Linked DNA regions of Homo sapiens: region 1 is linked to region 2. Evidence: promoter capture Hi-C in 16 types of primary human blood cells and fetal thymus (Javierre and others, 2016). All regions are on one chromosome and are shown on one strand. The core of a region is centred on a gene start or on the middle of the fragment in contact, and the rest is flanking DNA. Distances in the headings are between cores, read along the strand shown. Region 1 overlaps CEBPE (CCAAT enhancer binding protein epsilon). Region 2 holds the start of CDH24 (cadherin 24).

What was found. The method cuts DNA at HindIII sites, captures the fragments that hold promoters and counts their contacts. A CHiCAGO score of 5 or more calls a contact.
Region 1: a contact is called between a fragment that was not itself captured here and the fragment with the promoter of CDH24 in region 2, in 3 of 17 cell types (M2 macrophages, M0 macrophages and M1 macrophages). The highest score is 9.0, in M2 macrophages.

Annotation. Positions count from the first base shown.
Region 1 is chr14:23,113,089-23,118,101 of GRCh38, forward strand. It overlaps CEBPE (CCAAT enhancer binding protein epsilon), which reads right to left. Exons shown (of 2, transcript NM_001805.4): 2 at 4,218-4,734. The coding sequence ends at 4,399. Among named protein-coding and RNA genes, the nearest start is that of CEBPE, 3.7 kb to the right of the region's middle. RefSeq lists enhancers at 794-1,512, 1,678-2,877. The HindIII fragment of the contact is 3,584 bases long and covers 33-3,616 here.
Region 2 is chr14:23,054,959-23,060,170 of GRCh38, forward strand. CDH24 (cadherin 24) reads right to left here and starts at 2,562. Exons shown (of 13, transcript NM_144985.4): 1 at 2,445-2,562; 2 at 575-899; 3 at 101-395. The coding sequence starts at 775. ACIN1 (apoptotic chromatin condensation inducer 1) reads right to left here. Exons shown (of 19, transcript NM_001386863.1): 19 at 3,606-4,516. The coding sequence ends at 4,190. It overlaps LOC105370705 (collagen alpha-2(I) chain-like), which reads left to right and starts at 2,702. Exons shown (of 2, transcript NR_169511.1): 1 at 2,702-3,084; 2 at 3,327-3,691. RefSeq lists silencers at 2,442-2,561, 2,642-2,791. The HindIII fragment of the contact is 16,339 bases long and covers 1-5,212 here.

The sequences.
Region 1 (5,013 bases), core at 575-3,074, 57 kb after region 2:
AGGGGTTTGGACAGTTTAGGACTCCAGGGTGAAGCTTAGCTCATGGGGCGTAGGGGATGGATCCATTCTATGTGTGGCTTGCCTCTACCTACCCCTAGAACCCTGTTTCTTCTAAAAGGGAAGCAAATCTAAGGGAAAAATCTAGTCTGTCCCTGGACCTAAAATAAATACATAAATAAATAAATAATAAAAGAGAAGCAAGAGGCTACAGCTCTGTGGTGGGTCTTTCCCTATCAAGAAGCCTGCCCCTTCCCAGGCCCTGGGACCTTTCCATTGCTCTCTGAAGTCAGAATTGATGGCCATTTTGATAAAGTTAAGTTGTAGCCATTTTCCTCTGAAAACCCACACCCTCTCCCCTTGGGGAGAATTTCTCATATGCCACTGAGGTTTTCTGAGGCCAGGCCAGGCCTGCTTATGGAAGCAGCTGACAGAGGTCAGCCAGGGGTTCTGTCCAGCTTGGGCCACTCCCATTTTGGAGCAGCTCATGCTGAGTCGGGAGGAGGGGTCTGTCTGCGGGGGGTGGGGGGTGCTGGTGAGGGTGATGGGAAGTGACTGGCCTGTCCGAGAGGAGACGCACAGGCTCTCAGCCAGCCCTGCCTATTGTTGCCTCAGCGTCTCCTGAACAGCCCCCTTCATCCCATAGTCCCCTCACTGGCTTGGAGCACGGCAGGGGGTGGAGGTGAAGAGGCCCCTTTCCACCCACAACCCCAACCGGGATCTTGCAACACTGGGATGGGGGCCCTGGGGGCCCAGGCATGTGGCAATCTGTGTAGAGGGGTGGGGAGGTGTGCACCGAGCAGGGGGGTTGGGGGCAGCTTTCACAAGCCACTGCCTCCGCTGACTGACCTTGGCAGACTCACCTTGGGCAGCTTCCTCCCTCTGCAGTGTCTCCCCACAGTCTGTCTTCTCCTCTGCAGCTTCCCTGTGGCCTAAGATCCTGTCTCTCAGCTCAGGAGTCTCATTCTGCTCCCCAGTTCTGCTCCAGAAAGAAAAGTGGGCCTGAGCTGTGGGCGCTGAAGCAATAGGACTGCATGCGTGTGCTGTTTGGACCTTGATTTGCTGGTTTTCAAACGTTATCGAGTCCCCGGTCCTGGTGCCTTTCCCCAGGCAGGGTTTGGCTAACTGCCCTTCCCTGGGCTCCTTTCTGTCATCTCCTTCCCCAGTGGGGACAACCTTACTGTGGTAAAGGTGCCAGGAGGACCAAGGGGCAGGGAAGCTGAATCCAGGGGCAGAGAGAACCCTGCTCTCCACCTGCCCCGGCTTCTTAGGCACCATCCTCCTTGACAGAGGGAATGAAAATAGTCATTTGCAACCCCTGCAGCCCCATTCTGGAGGGAAGGTGCATCTTTTTCTTACTTATCCTCTCCTTCCTTCTTTCATTCAGCATCTACTCCTGGCTTCCTTTCTCTCGGTCACCTTAGGGCTTTTGCATTTACCCTTCCCTCTGTTCACCCTTACACTCAAAGACATACCTGCCTCCTTCTCAAAATTTTTGAAGTGTCAACTAAAATGTCACTTCCTCAGAGATACCTTTCTCGGCCACCCCAGCTAAAATAGCCTCCCTACCTGTTGGTTTATGTGGTTTCCCCAATGGGCTATTCAAATGGAGTAAGCAGGAGAAGTTAATTAAGGTGCTTTATGAAGATGTGAACCAACAGTATCTGGGGAAAGTTCCTGGAGTGGTGAAGTCCCCTGGGCTAGCCCAGCACGGGGGGCGCCTGAGGGCCAGGAATCCTTTGGGAGGGACTGTGGAGAGCGCCGGTCAGCAGGGGGCTCCCACCACTCTCCTCCTGCCAGTCTCACCCCCACCCCATGAGAGGCTGGTTGATGTAGGGAGGCATCCACCTGGGGACTGTGTAGGGTGATGAAGGGTGGAGAGGGTTCTGGAGGGGCAAAGGAAGACATTCAGCACACTTGTTTATTGACTTTTTCTTCCTACTCCTTCTGCTGAGAACTTGTCTCATTCCTAGAAAAGATACTCAACAAATACTTGTTGAATAAGTTACGTTGGCCAAAACCAATTGAGGTCAGATTGAAAGCCTCTTTCAGGAAGTGTGCCCTCTGGCTCTGACTCACACCCCTGGAATATGATCTGATGCAGAGGATTGGGATGTGTTCAGCTGCTGCACGTCACGCTGGGATCACAGTGGGGAGACGGGGATGTGACTCCCCCAGACTGGGTGCCAGTCAGGAAGGCTCCACTAGGCACCGGCCCTGAGGACCTGACTGGGTGAGCGGGGGCCTGAGAGGAGAAGCAATTCAGAGCTGTGGGAACAAAGCCTGGGCTTCATGCTGAAGCAACCCAGGTCCCATCACCCAGAACCTTGAAAGTAAGTCAAGGGACAGTGGTCTTGAGCTGAGAGGAGGAAATCCGGAGGTTGAGTCATTTACCATGTTCTGTACAAACCCCCCTTATGCAACCTATCCCCCTGGGCTGAAAGGAAGGTGTGAGGATTCTCCCAGGTGCCCACAGAGACTGGTACCTCCCCTCCTTCTGAACTCAGGAAGCTCCAGTCGGTCCCTCCACTGAAGGTTCAGATCTCTCCCTCCAAACCAGACCTGGGGCACGGGCCTCCAGGACACAGAGGTGCCCGAGAGACACAGAGGCAAAGGCAGGAAAAGGACTGAGTCCTGGGCAAGGTAGACATGCCGCACACGGATGCCCGAGGTGTGGGAGGGCTCTACCGCTGGAGATTTGAAGAAGGGAGAGAGATCTGGGATGATCCAGACACCAGTCTCTCACCTTCTCAGAAAATTATTCCTTGATGTCTGACTCAGCCTTTCACAGCATTGGCTTAGGAGAGACTTTAAGAAGCCCGTAATCTGTCCCTGGGTCCCTGACACTGTTGGGCACTGTTCTTTATTGAATGTGATTCATGTGACACTCGTACTGAGGATCTGTGAGAAGAGTGTAGCGTGGAGTAGAGAGACAGGTACCACGTACTGAGGCAGCAAAGGGACTCAGTGAGTGTCAGGAGAAGCCTCTTACCCCTCTGGCCCTCAACTGCTTTATCTGTAAAATGTGGCTCACCCTACCTTGCTGGTCTGAGGGCAGAGCCCACCAGATGATCTCTTGAGGTCTCTCCCAGCACATCTTGAGATCTGCGATTTTACAGAGCCAATTTTGGTTCTACCTCTAAACAATCGTGTGACTCCAGGTAAGTCCCTTCCCCTCTTTGCAGCCTGTTTTCTTACCTGCAAAATGAGTTTAGATGAGATCTCTGAGGTCCTTTCAGTTCCAGCAAAATGGAGGAATCATAATAAATATGCTTATTACATGCAAAGTTTTCTTTTTCTATGAATATAACAACACTACGGAGTGGGGACAAATATTGCAACCATTTTGCAGATGAGGAAACTGAGGCACAGAAAGACATAATGGCTCAAGGCTCACAGCTAGTAAGTAGCAGTGTAAGATTCAAACTGAGGCTCTTAATTATTGTACCATTCTGTCTCTTAGGCTGTAGTCCAATGCAAAAGAAAATGCTGTTTCGAATGATGGGTTTCCCTGGCACGGGCAGATTGTCATCCTCCTTCTCACTACCAGTGTTCTCATACACAAATCCGGTCTCCAGGTCTTTCCCAACCGATTCCTGTCCCATGCACTCAATTCTCAAGCTTTAGGGAACTGGAGCCTCAGGGATGAGGGACAAAGGATGGAAATGAATGGGTGGGAGCAGCGTGGGGAGGGTGTCCATCTGGTAGACTGAGGCTTTGGAAATGGAGAGAAGAGATGGCGGGCTGGATCAAGGGACCATAAATATGGCAGAGCCATCAGGAATTTTCCCATGGTCACCTGGGGCAGGAGCTCCCAGACCTATACCTCAAGGTGAGAGAGAGTGGGCCTGGGATCAGCAGGCCTGGGCATGAAGGACTGTGTGGTGCCGGGATCTCCCTACAAGCTGAAGATCTTTGTTAGCAGAGCATACAAAGGTGCTCCAGGTCCTGTGGGGGGCGGGGATGTGCCTTCAGCTCACAGAAGGGGGTGATGGGGGATGTCAGGGAGAGAAGAGCAGAGTGACAGATACACGGCCTGGCTGTGTGGTATATTGGGGGTGGGCTGTGGACAGCATGTCTGTGTTTCCACATGTCCACTTGGTCATGGAAACAAGAGGTGCAGACCTAGCCACATGCATCCTCTGTCCCCAGGGTCCTCCATGACACACACACACACACACACACACACACACACACACACACAGCCAACAGTCCCAACACCCAGTCACAGTGCAACTTTATTCAGCCATATAATCATTATGCTGGGTCCTGCCCTCTTTGCCACCCCGGTTGCCATTTATCCATGGTCTATGTCTCAGGGTTCTAGGCCCCCAGCAGGATGGGGGTCCGCAGAGTTAGGCCGTGCCAGGGAGCCTGGTGCCCACAATCCACCAGCCAGCCTCAGCTGCAACCCCCCACGCCCTTGATGAGGTTGGCCGCCTCAGGAATCTGGCGGAAGAGGTTGCGGAGGGTGTCTAGCTCCTGGGTGAGCTGCTCCACGCGGCTGCGGAGGCGCTCGTTCTCTGCCATGTACTCCAGCACCTTCTGCTGCGTCTCCAGAATGCGCCTCTTGGCCTTGTCTCGGCTCTTGCGCACGGCGATGTTGTTGCGCTCCCGCCTCAGCCGGTACTCAAGGCTATCTTTGTTCACTGCCTTCTTGCCCTTGTGTAAGGGGCCAGCCGGGGAGGGCGCCTTCAGGAGGGGACTGCAGGGGGGTGCGGCAGTGGCCAAAGGGGCCTGGAGGGGAAGGCACGGAGAGACGGAGAGGTGAGGGCTGGCCAGGAGGCAGAGCGGAGGCGGGGCGGGAATCTCGGCAGCCAGGGCACACTTGATGCGTCAAAGGAATACAGGACTCAGAGCCAGCTCCTGTCTCTCAGGTCAAAACTATCATCGCTCTGCTTCTGGGAGATGGTGACCCAGATGCACAGGGTCCTCTGCTTGAGACCAAAACTCCCTTTCATGTTCTCACACTTTCTTTCTTTCTTTTTTTGTAAAGATGGAGCCTTGCTATGTTGT
Region 2 (5,212 bases), core at 1,312-3,811:
ATTGAAGGGGGCAGGTTCTGGGGCAGACAACAAGAAGGGAAGGAGAGGTGAGAGAGCTCCAGAAGACGGGAACTGGGGCATTCAGAGCTGGGGTGCTCACCGACATTGGACATCTCGGGCACGGTGGCATGGTAGGGCCCAAGGGGAAAAATGGGTGGATTGTCGTTGATGTCTTGCACTTTGATGATGAACTCTGATGGGGGCTCCAGGGGCCGGTTGGAGGCTCGGTCCACGGCTTGGGCCAGTAGCACATATTGCGCCTTTTCCTCCCGGTCAAGGCTCTTGGTAACATGAATATTGCCTGTGGCCTCATCAATCACAAATACGGTGCCTGCCCCCTCCCCGGTCAACAGGTACTTGGTGCGGCCCTCTCCCCGGTCAACATCCGAGTGCAGCTGCAGGGGTCACGAAAAGATGGCAGAGGGCTCCAAGTACAGAGACAGGGTTAAAGAGTCTAGGTTTGGGTAGAGCGTTGGGAGTCCTGAGGGACCAAGGTCATTGCAGAAGTGATGAAGTTGCAGGGCAGGGCCTGAGGGCTTGGTGTCAGAGTAGACATGGGAGGGGTCATCCTTACCTTGCCAATGAGAACAGGCTCTGGACCAGCATATTCCTCAATGACAAAGAACTGGTTCCAGACCCAGCTCCTTCGAGTCCGCAGCAGAGCAGGCCCTGGGTGTTCCCGGGACCCTGCCCAGGCCCGGGCTGGGGCTGCCAGACGCCCCATGCAGCCCCAGCCACCCAGCCAGGCCAGCAGGAGCCTCACCAGGCCCCACATGTTTGGACTCCAGCCAGGGCTCTGTTCACTGGCCCTGGGTGCTGAGGCTGGGCCAGGCCACGTGGCCCATGAGCTGGCTGGGGTGGAGGGGCAGATGCGTTGAGGCTACCCCATGGATCCACACCTGCAGGACAAGCAGCTGCTCAGGCTCAAGGAAACCCCTAGCCCTCCTCCCCCGCAAAATTAGATGCTGAAGACCAGACCTCCAAGGAACCAGACACTCCACTGCCCAGAACTCAGACTAAGACAGAGAGCAGAGAGGCTGATCCTTCCTCCACCCAGGCTCTGCATGTATTCACCTCCAGCCCTCCAAGCTGATAAATCTCTGGTCAGTCAACTCTGAGTAGAGAACTGGGGAGGAACACAGGAGAGGGGATGCTGGGAGGGCTTGGAATCCCAAATCTGGTCTCTGTCCTCCCAGGTTGGGCACGTAGCCAGGTATTGGAGGAGGCGGGGCTACCAGAGAAAGGGCTTAAAATTACGGAGTTGGGATTCATGGAGGTGTGGCCTTAAGGTGTCTAGGGTCAGCATGAGATGACAAGGAGTGCAGCCTCAGGCAGGGCTGAGAGTCTGTGAAAGTCCCTCCCCACAAGGGGGAGCCCCACTCTCCAGGCCCTGTCTCCAGCCCACGCTGCCAGTGCAGTCCTTGAAGGGGGACTGGGCTCGTGAGACAGGAGTTGGGAGCCAGAGCTGAAGGAAGAGGATACAGGGTGGGGGACAGGGGGAGGTGACCGGGGAGAGAGGTCCACCCAGAGGCTAGAGACAGATAATGACTGACGGCTAGACTGACTCAGGGACTGTCCGGCAGAGAAATGACTGGATGAGAGACAGAAACAGAACAGTGGCAAGAGACAGAATGAGAGAGACCAGGGCAGCAGCCTGGGTGTCTGAAGGCAGAGAGGAGTCCTAGGGGCCAGGCTTGGAAACGGGTCACCGGGGGCAGTTCCGGGCAGGCAGGGGCAGACCTCAGCTTCGGGGGTGTCAAGCCAGGCCTCGGGAACTTAATTCTGGGAGAAGGAGCAGACAGGAGGGGTGGAGGCAGGGAGGGGCCACGGGAAGGGAGCTAGAGAGGAGACCCTTCCCACTGCTCTCCTTTCTCCTAGGGGCGGGGGGGAGGACCCCTCAGGTAGCTGTGGCTTCTGCCCCTCCTCCCTCAGAGCAGACACACACCTGACAGTCCCTTTGCTCCCGAGGGAAGGGGGAAACCGGAGGAAGGCTGGGGACCAGAGAGAAGGCGGGATGAGGAGGCGAGAAGGAAGGGGATAGAGGAGTGGGAAACAGGATAGCAGGAAGGGGAGAGGAGAGGGAGGGAAAGGAGAGCAAGAAAGAGAAAAGAGAAAGGCAGGAAAGGGGAGAAAGGTAGAGAAAGAAAAAGGCAAAGAGGGAGAGGAGATGGAAAAAGGACAAGAGGGAGAGGGAAGGGTTGGGGAGACAGAGGGAAGGGATAAGGAAGGCAAACAGGCAGAGAAGGAAGGGTGAAGAGAAATCGAGAGAAGAAAGAGGGAGAGAGGTGCGAGGGGAGAAGGGAAAGAGGCAGAGCGCGGGAGAAGGGAGCCGGCAGCGGGCTCCCAGCCACGGAGCGCACCCCTCCGAAGACCCCCGCAGGCTGCGGGCCCCCTCCTACCCCTCCGCGGATTCCCGACCCCTGCTCCGGGGCAGGCGCCCTTACCTGGCACTGCCGAGGGGCCCAGGCCGGCGGGAAGCGCCCCCGCCCGCCCCCGTCGCCGGGTCCCGGGGGCACAGCCCCGAGCCGATTGGAGCGGGCGCCGCGGCTCCGCTGCAGGTCTGAGCGGCCCCGGCGAGAACAAGGGAGCGAGACGGAGGGGGCGGGGGAAGAAGACTCCGCCTGCGGAGGAGCGAGGCGGCTCCGCGCCGCGCGGGAGAGGAGAGCCCAGCCTCCGACCCTCCCCGGCCAGCCGGGCCCGCGCGGCGGGGGCGGGGGCGGAGGCGGCGCCGCGCGTCCGCCCCCTCGGCGCTCCTGGGCTGCGGGGCGCATACAGATGCGGCGCCCCTCCCGGACCGGGCCCGCAGCGCCCGGCAGGGCACTCGGGCGGGAGGACGTCCAGGCCACGGCGCCAGGCCATTTCCGAAGAGCTGGCGGGGCGGGTGCACCCGGGAGCGCGAAGCTGCCAGTCCCCGCCCGCAGCGGAAAACGGGCGAGCGCGCGGTGAGGTGGGGAATTCGGAGCCCACTGCGGAGAGACCCGGCTCCGGGCTCCCGGTTCCCGGCTGGCTTTTGGGACTGGTGTGGATGGAATCCCAGCTGCAAGGCGGCGGCGTTTTGAGAGCCCATGCAAAGCACGGTAGCAGGTCAGCTGGGGGACACTTAAGGACGGCAGAAGGGTCCAGAGAGTCCGAGGCCCGGGCCCAGGGAGCGGGTCGGGAACAGAGGCACGACATCGGCGGGAGGTCGGAGGCGGGCAGTGGAACCCTTCTTGGGAAGCTCGGTTACAGGGGCCAACAGAGCGAGGAGCTGCCGCCCCCTGGTGGTAGTTGTGGGAGGCACCAAGGTGGCAGGCAGGTGACCAAACCCCTAATTTAACCGTGCACAGGACCAGGAACCAGAAGAGGACCCACCCTCCTAGCCCTGCTGGGGTGCCGCCACGGACACAGGTTGCTCCATGCCTTCCCGAATGAGGAAGGTCCACAGCTTTGGGTTGGTCAGGGCCAAGGCAGGGGATAAAAGACGTGGGAAGTTCAATAAGCAGGAAGCAGTCAGCCTAAAGGAACACATGGAATGAGAGCAACTCCTACTCCAGATATCCTCAGATGTCCACGCTCAGATATCCACAGTGGCTTCTTAACCTGCCCAAAGAAAGCCACTCACACAGTTTAAAACTAAGTCAGATTTTTATTTTTTTTTCCATAGACCACATCATTTAATAATAAAAAAAATAAAAATAAAAATTGAACAAAAGGAAAAGGTGGATATAAAGTGGAACCTGTGGGAAAGAGGCAAGGGCTGCAGGACAGAAGAGACTGGGAACTGCAGGGGCCCTGGGACTCAGGAGGAGATGCTGATTCAGCTCATAGGTGACCCAGTCCTGGCCCCGGCTGTTCCCAAGAGAAGGCTGTAAGTACCCAGGGAGGTGGTAAGCAGGATGGAGGAAAAATCAGAGGACTGGGGCACCTGGCTGTTCCCCATCTCTGGCCAACCACCTCCTTGCCTAACCTAGCTCTTGCCTCTCAGACTTAATGGGAAATGAGAGGGAGGGTCGGGCTAAGTCCCAAGAGATAGGTTAAGGGGGTGTGTTTGGGGGGAAAAGGATGGCCACTTTTCCATTTGGTATGTATGTAGGGATAGGTGATGTGAAAGACCCTTGGCTCCAGGGTGGTGGAGACTGTGCCTATCCCTCTGTGGCCATAACCCCCTGGGGCCGAGTGGCTGGTACCTGCAGCTCTAGTGTTTTCCCAGCTAGCGGCGCCCACCCCGGTCCCGCACAGGTGTGCTCCGACTCCGGCTTCTGCTGTGGCGCTTGGTGTCCCTGCGATCCCTTTCCCTGCCTCGTTCTCGGTCCCTTTCCCTATCCCGATCTCGGTCCCCCCTGTCCCGCTCCCTTTCTCTCTCTCTCTCCCTGTCCCTCTCCCGACTGTGCTCCCGACGTTTCTCTCGCTCCAGCTGTCGGTTCCGTTCCCGCTCGGCTTCCTTCTCCCGCTCCTTTTGCTCTTCTTCTTCTTGCTCCTTTCGCCGCTTCTCCCGCTCCTTGGCCCGTTCGGCCCGCTCTGCCTCTTTCTGAACGATCTGTAGCCAGGTAGGAAAGGCAGAGAATAGGCAGCTCAGTCCTGGTCACAGCCTCCATTTGTGCCTGGACCCTGCCTCCTAGCTCAGGGTCAGCTTTTCAGTTAAACAGGAAGGGGTTGGGGGCTCAACAACTGCATCCTGTCTTTCTTAGAGCACCTCTCTCCCTCCTAGTTTCAGCCTTTTTTTTTTTTTTTCTGAGACGGAGTCTCGCTCCGTCGCCCAGGCTGGGAGTGCAGTGGCACGATCTCGGCTCACTGCAAGCTCCACCTCCCGGGTTCACACCATTCTCCTGCCTCAGCCTGCTGAGCAGCTGGGACCACAGGCGCCCGCGACCACGCCCGGCTAATTTTTTTGTATTTTCAGTAGAGACGGGGCTTCACCGTTGTTAGCCAGGATGGTCTTGATCTCCTGACCTCGTGATCCGCCCGCCTCAGGCTCCCAAAGTGCTGGGATTACAGGCGTGAGCCACCGCGCCCCGCCAGTTTTTTTTTTTTTTTTTTTTTGAGACAGTCTCACTCTGTCGCCCAGGCTGGAGTGCAGTGGTGCTATCTTGGCTCACTGTGGTCTCCGACTCGCAGGTTCAAGTGATTCTCCTGCCTCAGCCTCCCTAGTAGCTGGGATTACAGGTGTCTGCCACCATGCCCCACTAAGTTTTGTATTTTTAGTAGAGATGGGGTTTCACCATGTTGGCCAGGA